Linked DNA regions of Homo sapiens: region 1 is linked to region 2. The links are contacts of gene promoters, found by promoter capture Hi-C in human tissues and cell types (Jung and others, 2019). All regions are on one chromosome and are shown on one strand. The core of a region is centred on a gene start or on the middle of the fragment in contact, and the rest is flanking DNA. Distances in the headings are between cores, read along the strand shown. Region 1 holds the start of SNRNP70 (small nuclear ribonucleoprotein U1 subunit 70). Region 2 overlaps DKKL1 (dickkopf like acrosomal protein 1).

Region 1 (6,437 bases), core at 3,798-6,297, 290 kb before region 2:
TTATACTTTTTGTTGGGTGGGGGTAGAGAGAATGCCACAGAGAGGCATTGCTCTTCTCATTATATCATACTGGGGGGTGTATGATGTCCATATGCCATATCACTGGTGATGTTAACATTTTTTTTCTTGAGACAAGGTCTCACTCTGTTGCCCAGGCTGGAGTGCAGTGTTGTAATCATAGTTCACTGCAGCCTTGACCTCCCAGGCTCAAACAGATCCTCCCACTTCAGCCTCTCAAGTAGCTGGGACTACAGACCTGAGCCACCACACCCGAATAATTTAAATCTATCTTTCTTTCTCTTTCTTTTCTTCTATTTCTTTTTGTTGTTGTTGTTGTTTTTGACGTAGTTTGGCTCTTGTTGCCCAGGCTGGAGTACAATGGCGCGATCTTGGCGATTCTCCTGCCTCAGCCTCCTGAGCAGCTGGGATTACAGGTGTGTGCCACCACACCTGGCTGATTTTTGTATTTTTAGTAGAGATAGGGTTTCACTGTGTTGGCCAGGCTGGTCTTGAACTCCTGATCTCAGGTGATCCACCCACCTCGGCCTTCCAAAGTGCTGGGATTACAGGCGTAAGCCACCGTGCCTGGCAAGTTTTCATTCTTAAAAAGGGATGTTCTGGACCAGGTGCGGTGGCTCACGCCTGTAATCCCAGCACTTTGGGAGGCCAAGACAGGCGGATCACGAGGTCAGGAGATCAAGACCATCTTGGCTAACACAGTGAAGCCCCGTCTCTACTAAAAATACAAAAAATTAGCCGAGTGTGGTGGCAGGCGCCTGTAGTCCCAGCTACCCAGGAGGCTGTGGCAGGAGAATGACATGAACCTGGGAGGCGGAGCTTGCAGTGAATCGAGATTGCGCCACTGCACTCCAGCCTGGGTGGCAGAGCAAGACTCTGTCTTAAATAAATAAATAAATAAAGAGAGGCAGCCAGGCTCTGTGGCACATGCCTGTAGTCCCAGCTACTTGGAGGCTGAGGCAGAAGGATTGTTTGAGCCCAGGAAGTTCTGGGCTGTAGTGTGTTATGCTGATTAGGTGTCCATACTAAGTTTGGCTTCAATATGGTAACCTCCCATGCGTGGGAGACTACCAGGTTGCCTAGCAGGGGTTGAACTGACCTAGGCTGGAAATGGATCAGGTCAAAACTCCCATGTTGATCAGGAGTGGGATCATGCCTATGAATAGCCACTGCACATGAGCCTGAGTGACACAGTGAGACCCTGTCTCTGAAAAATCAATCAATAAATAGGAAGCACAGCATAAAAGTTTAGAAAAGTCACAACCTGGCAATGTGGTAGAGAAGGGAAGAGCATTTTTTAGGAGAGAAATAGAAGCAGGCTGTATTGCCTTGCTGGAGAGGTTGCGTGACTAAAAGGAAGCCAAGTGCTAACATCCAAGACAATGGGAAAAAGGCCTTGAAGGCATTTCAGGAGTCTTCAAAACAGCCTCCCCCATCACAGGCTCTGAGGCATATAAGGAAAGAGTGGTTTACTGGGCCAGATCCAGGGCCCTGTCTCCTGCTCAGCCTGGGGACACTGCTCCCCTGCATCCCTGCTGTTCGATCACCAGCCATGACACACAGGGTCCCAAGTACAGCTTGGGCCACCACTCCAGAGGGTGCAAGCCATAAACTTTGGCAGCTTTCATGTGGGATTAAGCCTGCAGGTGCACAGAATGCAAGAGTGAAGGAAGCTTAGCAGCTCCCACCTGGATTTCAGAGGATGTGTAGGAAAGCCTGGGTGTCCAGGCAGAAGTCGGCTGCATGGTTGGAGTCCCTACAGAGAGCCTCTACTAGGACAGTGCCAAGGGGGAAAGGTGGGGTTGGAGGCCTAACATAGAGTCCCCACCAGGGCGCTGCCTAGTGGAGCTGTGAGAAGGGGACCCCTCCTCTCTAGATCCCAGAGTGACAGGTCTGCCAGCAGATTGCACCCTGAGCCTACAACAGCTGCAGGCACTAAACTCCAACCTGTGTGAGGAGACATTGGGGCTGGACTTTGCTGCCCAAGACTTTGGGAGCCCACTCCTTGCACCAGTGTGCCTTGGATGCAGAACATGGAATCAGGGATTATTTTGGAGCTTTAAAGTTTTTTTTTGTTTTTGTTTTTGTTTTGAGACAGAGTCTTTCTCTGTTGCTCAGGCTGGAGTGTAGTGGTGCAATCTTGGCTCACGACAACCTTCGCCTCCCGAGTTCAAGCAATTCTTCTGTCTCAGCCTCCTGAGTAGCTGGGATTACAGGCACCTGCCACCACACCTGGCTAATTTTTGTATTTTTAGTAGAGATGAGGTTTCACCATCTTGGCCAGGCTGGTCTTGAACTCCTGACCTCGTGATCCATCCACCTCGGCCTCCCAAAGTGCTGAGATGACAGGTGTGAGCCACTGTGCCAGGCTAGAGCTTTAAAGTTTAATGTCTTCTCTGCTGTGTTTCAGACTTCTGTTAAGCCTATTGTCCCTTTCCTTTGGCAGATTTCTCCCTTTTATTTTATTATTATTATTATTTTATTTTTATTGTTGTTGTTTTGAGACAAAGTCTCGCTCTGTTGCCACGCTGGAGTATAGTGGCACGATCCTGGCTCACCGCAACCTCTGCTTCCTGGGTTCAAGCAATTCTCCTGCCTCAGCCTCCCAAGTAGCTGGGACAACAGGCACGTGCCACCATACCCAGCTAATTTTTGTATTTTTAGTAGAGACAGGGTTTCACCATGTTGGCCAGGATGGTCTCGATCTCTTGACCTCATGATCTGCCTGCCTCAGCCTCCCAAAGTGCCAGGATTACAGGTGTGAGCCACCGTGCCCAGCCATCATTATTATTTTTTGAGATAGAGTCTTGCTCTGTCCAGGCTGGAGTGCAGTTGCACAGTCTCAGCTCACTGCAACCTCCACCTCCCAGATTCAAGCGATTCTCCTGCCTTAGCCTTCAAAGTAGCTGGGATTACAGGTGCATGCCACCATGTCCAGCTAATTTTTGTATTTTTAGTAGAGAAGGGGTTTCGCCATGTTGCCCAGGCTGGTCTTGAACTCCTGATCTCAGGGATCCTCCTACCTTGGCCTCCCAAAGTGCTGGGATTACAGGTGTGAGCCACCACACCCGGCCTATTTTATTTGTTTTTTTGAGACAGATTCTCACTCTGTTGCCCAGGCTGGAGTGCAGTCGTGCAATCTCTGCCTCCCGGGTTCAAGCAATTCTCCTGCCTCAGCTTCCCAGGTAGCTGGAATTACAGGTGCGTGCCACCACTCCCAGCTAATTTTTGTATTTTTAGTAGAGATGGGATTTCACCATGTTGGCCAGGCTGGTCTCGAACTCCTGACCTCAGGTGATCCGCCCACCTCGGCCTCCCAAAGTGCTGGGATTACAGGTGTGAGCCACCACACCCAGCCCTTTTCTTTCTTTTTTTTTTTTTTTTTTTGAGACGGAGTCTCGCTCTGTCGCCCAGGCTGGAGTCTAGTGGCACAATCTTGGCTCACTGCAGCCTCAACTTTCTCGGCTCAAACGATCCTCCCACTTCTTTTTTTTATTTGAGACGGAGTTTTGCTCTTGTCTCCCAGGCTGGAGTGCAATGGTGCCATCTTGGCTCACCACAACCTCTGCCTCCCAGGTTCAAGTGATTCTCCTGCCTCAGCCTCTCAAGTAGCTGGGATTATAGGCATGTGCCACCATGCCCAGCTAATTTTGTATTTTTAGTAGAGACGGGGTTTCTCCATGTTGATCAGTCTGGTCTCGAACTATTGACCTCAGGTGATCTGCCCGCCTTGGCCTCCCAAAGTGCTGGGATTACAGGCGTGAGCACTGCACTCGGCCTTTTTCTTGAAACATAAAATTAGTCATTTTAATTTGCAATAATTTCTGTAGTTATTAAACAGGCTATTGAATCCATCCACAAAACTTAAGATACAATACTTAAGAACAGGGCTCTAAATAACAAGTGCCAGCTCTCTGATCTCATGGCCAACAACCTGAGATTCCTGCCATCTGGTCTCAGTTCAGGACCTTTGCACTTACTGTTAAACACCGCCCCCCCGGCCCCACCCCAGATCTCGCTTCTATCTGTCCTTTATTCAAATGTTACCTCTTCAGAGGGGCCTTCCATTATCACCCTTTCTAAAACAGCCTCGCTCTCACTTCCCATCCCTTTATTCTGCTCCATCGTTCTTCATTATGCTGGCCACTATCTCAAATTATCTTTTATTATTTATTTATTTATTTACTTTTGAGACGGAGTCGCTCTGTCGCCCAGGCTGGAGTGCAATGGCACGACCTCGGCTCACTGCAACCTCCGCCTCCCGAGTTCAAGCGATTCTCCCGCCTCAGCCTCCAGAGTAACCGGGCTTACAGGCGCGCACGGCCACGCCCGGCTAATTTTTGTATTTTTAGTAGAGACGGGCTTTCACCATGTTGGTCAGGTTGGTCTCACACTCCTGACCTCAGGTGATCTGCCCGCCTCAGCCTCCCAAAAGTTCTGGGATTACAGGCGTGATCCACCGCGCCTGGCCTCAAATTATCTTTATTCAGTTAAATGCTTTTATTGTCTCTCCCAGTACAATGTAAGCCCTAGCAGCAGAAGACTTTGCTTTAATCACGTGCTGTACCCCCAAAGCCCAGACAGTGCCTAGCACACACGAGATGCTCGATGAATAGTTATTGATTGAATAGATTAGACATCAACGCAATCAGGCTGTTCACCTAGGGACTCTTTGCTAGGCGGCGGAGAGGTACGTTACAGTTCTCTACGCAAAACGCATGCGCGAAAGATCCGGGAAGTGTGATCGGAAAGGGGCGGAGCATCAGGGAGAGTCTCGCGGACATAGGCGGTTCGGCGCGGAAAGCGGGAGGTGGAGGGGCGGCTTGGGGCAAGCGCGCGCGCGCAGTGCAGAAGCCAGCCCCCCGCGGCTGAGGTACTCAAGGTGCCCAAAGGCGGGGTAGTGACCTCGCGCGTGCGCTGTGCCCGCGGCAGCGCCGGGTCCTAGTGTGTGGGTTGTTGTTGGCACCGCACGGCGCGTGCGCAGTGAGGACGGCGGAGGGATTTGCGGCCGGGACCCACCCCCTGCTCCAGTCGCTATCGGAGGCCGCGCGGGTGGCTGAGCAGCGGCCTGGTGCGCTCGCTTAGCGGGCGACGGAATCAGACGGACGTGGACGCCCCCGGAGTGGAAGCCGAAGCAGGAGTTGTTGTTGCTGAGGGGCTGCCGCAGCCGCCGCGAGCCTCCGGACAGACGCCAGAGCGAGGAGGGCGCTACGCGGTGAGTGAGTGTGACTGAGTGGCCCGACGGGGTGCGGGGCCGCTACCCAGAAGCCCCAGCGGTGGGCCCGGTCCTCTTCCCCGCGGCCAGGCCCCTTTCCCGCGTCCCCGCCACAGGTCCCTTCTGCATCCCTTTCCCGGACCCCGAAATCTCTGGGCACCCACGCCCGCTTCCCACAGCGCCCTCGTGGTTCCCTACCCACAGGCCCTTGCGGTGTGTGGCCTTTTTTCTTTTTCGTTTGTCTATGTTGTCCTGGACCCTTACCCATAATTCCTTTCGCTTTTTGCGGGGTCCAGGTCTGTTACCCACAAGCACTTGGTTTTGGGGCTTCGCTCCTTATGTTTCTCTTTCTTTGCTTGGAAACTTCCGATCCCCAGGACCCTGCAAACTGCATCTCGTAATTTGCCCTCCACGGCACGGGACGAGCAGCCACAGCTGCTCTGGGCCTCCCTCCTCGGGTCCTTGATTTCCCCAGAAATTCCCAGGGAACCTCTCCGCCCCACAGCTCGTGTCAGAGGACTCTGAGACTTCACTCTTCAGGAACCCTTTTCCAGCCGTTATTTTTGTTTTCTTTACCGGCCTTTCACCTCCACCCCCACCAAGACGTACCCTTTTCTCCGCAACACAGGACTGTTCTCTGCCCTTACAGAGCCTGTTTTAATTCCGAGACTTTTCTCCTGTCTTTCTTATTTTGAGAGTCAAGGAGTAACAGGGGCTTTCTCTGTGCAGACCCGATCTAACCTAAGGCTGTCCTGCTTCTGCTCTCAGACTTGGCAAGATGACCCAGTTCCTGCCGCCCAACCTTCTGGCCCTCTTTGCCCCCCGTGACCCTATTCCATACCTGCCACCCCTGGAGAAACTGCCACATGAAAAACACCACAATCAACCTTATTGTGGCATTGCGCCGTACATTCGAGAGTTTGAGGTGAGTTCACTGAGCAGGCCAGGAATGGTTTGGGTTCTGGGGAGCAACGGGTTGGATTTGCGAGTCCAGCTTCTGGCCATTTTGCCAGCTGCGTGATTTAAGCGAGGGGCTTAACCTTTGTGATCCTCAGTTTCTCTGTTTTAAATGGGGTTGGAGCCGGGTGTCGGGTGTGGTCGAGTGCGTCTGTAGTCTCAGCTACTCAGGAGGCTGAGGTGGGAGGATTGCTTGAGCCCAGGAGTCGGAGGCTGGAGTGCTTTGTGATTGTGCCACTATACTCCG
Region 2 (6,345 bases), core at 709-3,208:
CCAGCCTGGGCGACAGAGCGAGACTCCGTCTCAAAAAAAAAAAAAAAATACAAAGTATGGCCAGGAGTGGTGGCTTACACCTATAATCCCAGCACTTTGGGAGGCCGAGGCGGGCAGATCACCTGAGGTCAGGAGTTCGAGACCACCCTGACCAACATGGAGAAACCCCGTCTCTACTAAAAATACAAAATTAGCCGGGCATGGTGGCACATGTCTGTAATCCCAGCTACTCAGGAGGCTGAAGCAGGAAAATCGTTTGAACCCAGAAGGTGGAGGTCGCGGTGAGCGAAGATAGCACCATTGCACTACAGCCTGGGCAACAAGAGCGAAACTCCATCTCAAAAAATAAATAAATAAATAGGCTGGGCATGGTGGCTCACGCCTGTAATCCCAGCACTTTGGGAGGCCAAGGCAGGTGGATCACCTGAGGTCAGGAGGTTGAGACCAACCTGGCCAACATGGTGAAACCCCGTCTCTACTAAAAATGCAAAAATTAGCTGGCATGGTGCCATGCCCCTGTAATCCCAGCTACTCTGGAGGCTGTGGTGGGAGAATCGCTTGAACCCAGGAGGCAGAGGCTGCAGTGAGCCGAGATTGTGCCACTGCACTCCAGCCTGGGCTACAGAGTGAGACTCCATCTCAAAAAAAAAAAAAAAAGAACACAGTCATGTTGGATTAGGGCCCAACCTAATGACCTCATCTTCACCAATTATATCTTCAATGACCCTAGTTCCAAATAAGGCCACATTCTGAGGTATTACAGGTTAGAATTTCAAAATATGAATTTGGGGAGGAAACAATATGGTTGTTTGTTCGTTTGTTTTTTAAGCCTGGGTCTTGCTCTGTTGCCCAGGCTAGAGTGCAATGGCACAATCTTGACTCACTGCAGCCTCTGCCTCCCAGGTTCAAGTGATTCTCCTGCCTTAGCCTCCCAAGTAGCTGGGATTACATGAGCGCGCCAGCACGCCCAGCTAATTTTCATATTTTTAGTAGAGACAGGATTTTGTCATGCTGTCCAGGATGGTCTCAAACTCCTGACCTCAAGTGATCTGCCCACCTCAGCCTCGCAAAGTGCTGGATTACACACATGAGCCACCGCGTCCAGCCAGGAGGAAACAATTTAACACATAACAATCTCCTGCGCGGCTTCTCAGACCTCATCTTACTAAAAGGCAGACTGATTCAGCAGGTCTGAGTGGGGTGGGACCTATTAATTTGCATACCTAACAACAGCAGCCCACCCTTTGAATTGCAAGGACCAAACAGACACTCAGTCCATATTCAAACTTTCTCCCTCAACTCAAAGCTGTCCTTGAAAGCTTTATTTTTTTTTTTTCCCTTGAGATGGAGTCTCGCTCTGTCACCCAGGCTGGAGTGCAGTGGTGCGATCTCGGCTCACTGCAAGCTCCGCCTCCTGGGTTCATGCCAATCTCCTGCCTCAGCCTCCCGAGTAGCTGGGACTACAGGCGCCCGCAACCATGCCCGGCTAAATTTTTTTGTATTTTTAGTAGAGACAGGGTTTCACCGTGTTAGCCAGGATGGTCTCGATCTCCTGACCTCGTGATCCGCCAGCCTCGGCCTCCCACAGTGCTGGGATTACAGGCATGAGCCACTGCACCTGGCCCCTTGAAAGCTTTTGATTCAGGATCAATGAAGGATCACACATTGCATTTATGGTCATGAGTCTTCGGTAAACCCAAGAGCTTTTAGTCCTAAAGTGCTTTGTACATTTCAAACTGCTATCCTCTAAACCTCAGAGAGGATTTAATCCTAAAGTGCTCTAGAATCCCAACAGGCATTATAATCCCTGAAGTGCTCTATTACCTCCCTTTTGAAAGCCCCCAAACAAATTTTCCAATCCCAAAGCATTCTGTAAACCTCAGAGTATTTTTAATCCTTAAGTGTAAACCCAAGTGCTTTGTAAACCTCAAACAGGGCTTTTGAACCCACAAAGCATCCTGTCATCTGCAAAGTGGGCTGAATAGGTCAGTGGGGACTGACCATCCTGGGGTGCTGTTTGGAGTATGAGAGGGTCTCCTTGTTCTTCCTCCCCAGGTACCCAGGATGGAGGAGAAGGAGGCCCTGGTACCCATCCAGAAGGCCACGGACAGCTTCCACACAGAACTCCATCCCCGGGTGGCCTTCTGGATCATTAAGCTGCCACGGCGGAGGTCCCACCAGGATGCCCTGGAGGGCGGCCACTGGCTCAGCGAGAAGCGACACCGCCTGCAGGCCATCCGGGATGGACTCCGCAAGGGGACCCACAAGGACGTCCTAGAAGAGGGGACCGAGAGCTCCTCCCACTCCAGGCTGTCCCCCCGAAAGACCCACTTACTGTACATCCTCAGGCCCTCTCGGCAGCTGTAGGGGTGGGGACCGGGGAGCACCTGCCTGTAGCCCCCATCAGACCCTGCCCCAAGCACCATATGGAAATAAAGTTCTTTCTTACATCTAACAACACCATCTCCTTTCACTATTTATCCCCAACCGCCTGCCAACCAGGCCATGGCAAAGGCCCCCAGTCCCAGCTCTGAGCATGAGAGCTGGCTGTGCTAGCTCTTGCCTAAGTCTCCCAGGCTTGGTTTTCTCATTCAGGCATTGTCTGTGCTGTAGCCCCATCTGTCCACTCAGCACCCAACCCTGTCACCTCCAGCCCTGTCTGCACTCCCAACTCTCAGCTATTTTTTTTTGCTTTTTTTTTTTTTTTGAGAACAGGGTCCCACTCTGTTACCCAGGCTGGAGTGCAGTGGCACAATCACAGCTCACTGCAGCCTTGACCTCCCAGGCTCAGGTGATCCTCTCACCTCAGCCTCCCCAGTAGCTGGGACCACAGGTGTGCGCCACCACGCCCAGCTAATTGTTGTATTATTTAACATAGGGATCTCCCTGTGTTGCTCAGGGTGGTCTTGAACTCCTGGGCTCAAGCGATCCTCCCACCTCAGCCTCTCAAAGTGCTGGGATTACAGGCTTGAGCCACTGTGCCCGGCCCCCAACTCTTTCACTCCAGTCCTCTCTACTTGGCCCCCGTACTGTTACTGCCATAAAAATGGGCACAAACTTGGCAACTTAAAACAACACAAATGCATTATTTCACATATCATCCTGGTCAGAAATCCAGGATGGCTCCGCTGGCCCTCAGCTCTGGGTTTCACAGGGTGTCAGCCACCCGAGCTCTCATTGGGAGGCTCTGGGAAGAAGCTGCTTTCAAGCTCATTCAGATTTTAAGCAGAATCGAGTTCCTGGGCTTGTGGGACTGAGGTCCCCACGTTCTTGCTGGCTGTCAGCTGGGGGCCACCCATGCTTCCACGCTTAGCTCCAAGAGGCCTCTCTCCAGTTACTGCAGGTGGACCTGACATCCCAGAGCCACAGCCCAGTATCATGGCGGGACTCTGACTTCCCCTTGTGTCCCATCTCTGGTATGCCTTCCTCTTCTGGCAGAGACAGTCCTCTGCTTTGAAGGGCTCATGTGATTGGACTGGACCTACCGGGACAACATATTTACAGTTTTCAGGAATTATGGGGTGATCATCTTTGGGGGACCACTATCCAGCCCCACTCAGGTCCTTCCCATGTCATCTCCAGCCTCGACTCTGTGGTGTCCACACCCACCTATCCTTGTCTTCATCTTCTCATTCTCTCACTACCCCCTGACGGAGAGACTCCATCTCCAACTTGCTATTTCTCTCTCTTTGTCCCTCTATCTGACCCTCCCTGCTCACCACCTCAAACTCCCTCACTTCCAGGCCTGATGCCACGTCCAAACTTGGAAGCTCACAGAGCTTGCCTGTGGTGGTCTGTCCACTTTGTCCTTCCTCAGAGCATTTCCTGTCCCCTCTGAGAATCCTCCGTCATGACCCATCAAGGAGAAAGCTGATCTGATCCTCCCCAGTGCTGAGTCCCATCTAGGACCCGGACACGGCATGTACTCTCTCCCTTGAAGCCCAAGCTGAGCGCTGGATCACCCCATAGACTCACACACTCAGGAACCCAACAGTGAGTACAATGAATACAAGTCAACTTTTTTTTTTTTTTTTGAGACCGTCTCGCTCTGTCGTCCAGGCTGGAGTGCAGTGGCATGATCTCAGCTCACTGCAGTCTCTGCCACCACCCAAGTTCAAGTGATTCTCATGCCTCAGCCTCCCAAGTAGCTGGGACTACAGGTGCTCACCACCACGCCCAGCTAATTTTTGTATTTTTAATAGAGATGGGGTTTTACCATTTTGGCCAGGCTAGTTTCAAACTCCCAACCTCGGGTGATCTGCCCGCCTCAGCCTCTCAAAGTGCTGGGATTACAGGCATGAGCCACCACGCCCGGCCAAGTTTGGCTGCTTCTAAGGCCTCTCTCCTTGGCTTGAGGATGGCTGCTTTCTCACTGTATCCTCACATTGTGTCTTTTTGTTTTTTTTGTTTTTGAGACAGAGTCTCACACTCTGTCGCCCAGGCTGGATGGAGTGCAGTGGCGTGATCTCCACCTTCCAAGTTCAAGAGATTCTTCTGTCTCAGCCTCCCAAGTAGCTGGGACTACATGCACGCGCTGTCATGCCTGGCTAATTTTTGTATTTTTTAGTAGCGACAGGGTTTCACCATATTGGCCAGGCTGGTCTTGAACTCCTAACCTCGTGATCCACCCACCTCGGCCTCCCAAAGTGCTGGGATGACAGGCGTGAGCCACTGCACCCGGCCCACATTGGCTTTTATTTGCAATTCTAGAATAGGGCAGTACCTCATTCTATAAAGTAAAATGAGTGTTCCCATGAGCCGAGCAGAGAAGGGTTGTTTACGATCTCGGCTCACTGCAATCTCTACCTCCCGGGTTCAAGCGATTCTCCTGCCTCAGCCTCCCGAGTAGCTGGGATTAAAGGCTCCTGCTGCCACACCCAGCTAATTTTTGTATTTTTTGTAGAGACGGGGTTTCACCATGTTGGCCAGGTGGTCTTGAACTACTGACCTCAAGTGATCCGCCTACCTCAGCCTCCCAAAGTTCTGGGATTACAGGCGTGAGCCACCGCACCCAGCTAATTTTTGTATTTTTAGTAGTGACAGGGTTTCATCATGTTGGGCAGGCTGGTCTCAAACTCCTGACCTCAAGTGATGCACCCACCTCAGCCTCCCAAAGTGCTGGGATTACAGGCGTGAGCTACTGTGCCCGGCCAGGGATTACATTTCTTTTTTTTTTTTTTTAATTTTTTATTACAGAACAATTATTATCTGTCATCAAACTATCCTTTCAGATTCATTTTGAATACCTCCTTTCTTTTTTATTTTTCTTTGAGATGGGAGTCTCGCTCCGTCGCCCAGGTTGGAGTGCAGTGGCGCCACCTCGGCTCACTGCAATCTTTGCCTCCCGGGTTCAAGTGATTCTCCTGCCTCAGCCTCCTGACTCACTGGGACTACAGGTGCCTGCCACCATGCCCGGCTAATTTTTTGTATTTTTAGTAGAGACAAGGTTTCACCATGTTAGCCAGGATGGTCTCCATCTCCTGATCTCGTGATCCGCCCACCTCGGCCTCCCAAAGTGCTGGGATTACAGGCATGAACCACTGTGCCCGGCCTCAATTGGTCATTTCAAAGTTACTTTACTTGTGGCCAGGTGTGGTGGCTCACGCCTGTACCCCAGCACTTTAGAAGGCTGACGCAGGTGGATCACCTGAGGTCAGGTGTTCAAGACTAGCCTGGCCAACACAGTGAAACCACGTCTCTACTAAAAATATAAAAAATTAGCCGGGCATGGCGGTGGGTGCCTGTAATCCCAGCTACTCGGGAGGCTGAGGCAGAAGAATTGCTTGAACCCAGGAGGCGAAGGTTGCAGTGAGCCGAGATCACACCACTGCACTCCAGCCTGGGCGACAGAGCAAGACTCCGTCTCTAAAAACAAACAAAAAAACAAACAAAGTTACTTTACTTGTAAAGGTTAAAACAGAGGGGACTTCCTCATCATGCTAGCTAGAAGATGTGGCTATTATCTCTCTCTCCTGTCTCCCCTAAATTCTCAGAGGTCATATAACTTAGTTTCAGCTTGCTGACATGGAACTGTAACATGAGTGACTCCACTGGTCTCTTGGGCCTAGTGCAGGAGCTCGGTCCAAACCAATGGCTTCCTGTAAAATTTATTTAACAAGGCAAATCTACAGAGACAGAAAGCAGATTCATGGTTATGTGGGGCTTCACGGAAAGGAAGGTTGAGTTAGGAATAATGGCTAAGAGATGTAGGGCTTTGTTTTGGAGTGATGAAAATGTTCTAAAATTAATTGTGATGATTGTAGAACTCTGTGAGTACACTGAAAACCACTGAATTATACACTTTAAATGGGTAAATTATGTGGTGTGTGGATGATAACTCAATAA

What was found. Contacts are between HindIII fragments. The study calls those that stand out against the background at their distance.
Region 1: the fragment with the promoter of SNRNP70 here is called in contact with a fragment that was not itself captured in region 2 in 1 of the 25 tissues and cell types used here (dorsolateral prefrontal cortex).

Annotation. Positions count from the first base shown.
Region 1 is chr19:49,080,404-49,086,840 of GRCh38, forward strand. It overlaps SNRNP70 (small nuclear ribonucleoprotein U1 subunit 70), which reads left to right and starts at 5,048. Exons shown (of 10, transcript NM_003089.6): 1 at 5,048-5,233; 2 at 6,002-6,158. The coding sequence starts at 6,012. It also overlaps the pseudogene RN7SL708P. RefSeq lists enhancers at 4,724-4,793, 5,144-5,233. The HindIII fragment of the contact is 18,802 bases long and covers 1-6,437 here.
Region 2 is chr19:49,372,662-49,379,006 of GRCh38, forward strand. It overlaps DKKL1 (dickkopf like acrosomal protein 1), which reads left to right. Exons shown (of 5, transcript NM_014419.4): 5 at 2,056-2,455. The coding sequence ends at 2,367. All of the region lies in intron 2 of LOC101928295 (a long non-coding RNA gene), which reads right to left. Among named protein-coding and RNA genes, the nearest start is that of DKKL1, 12 kb to the left of the region's middle. The HindIII fragment of the contact is 4,218 bases long and covers 1-4,067 here.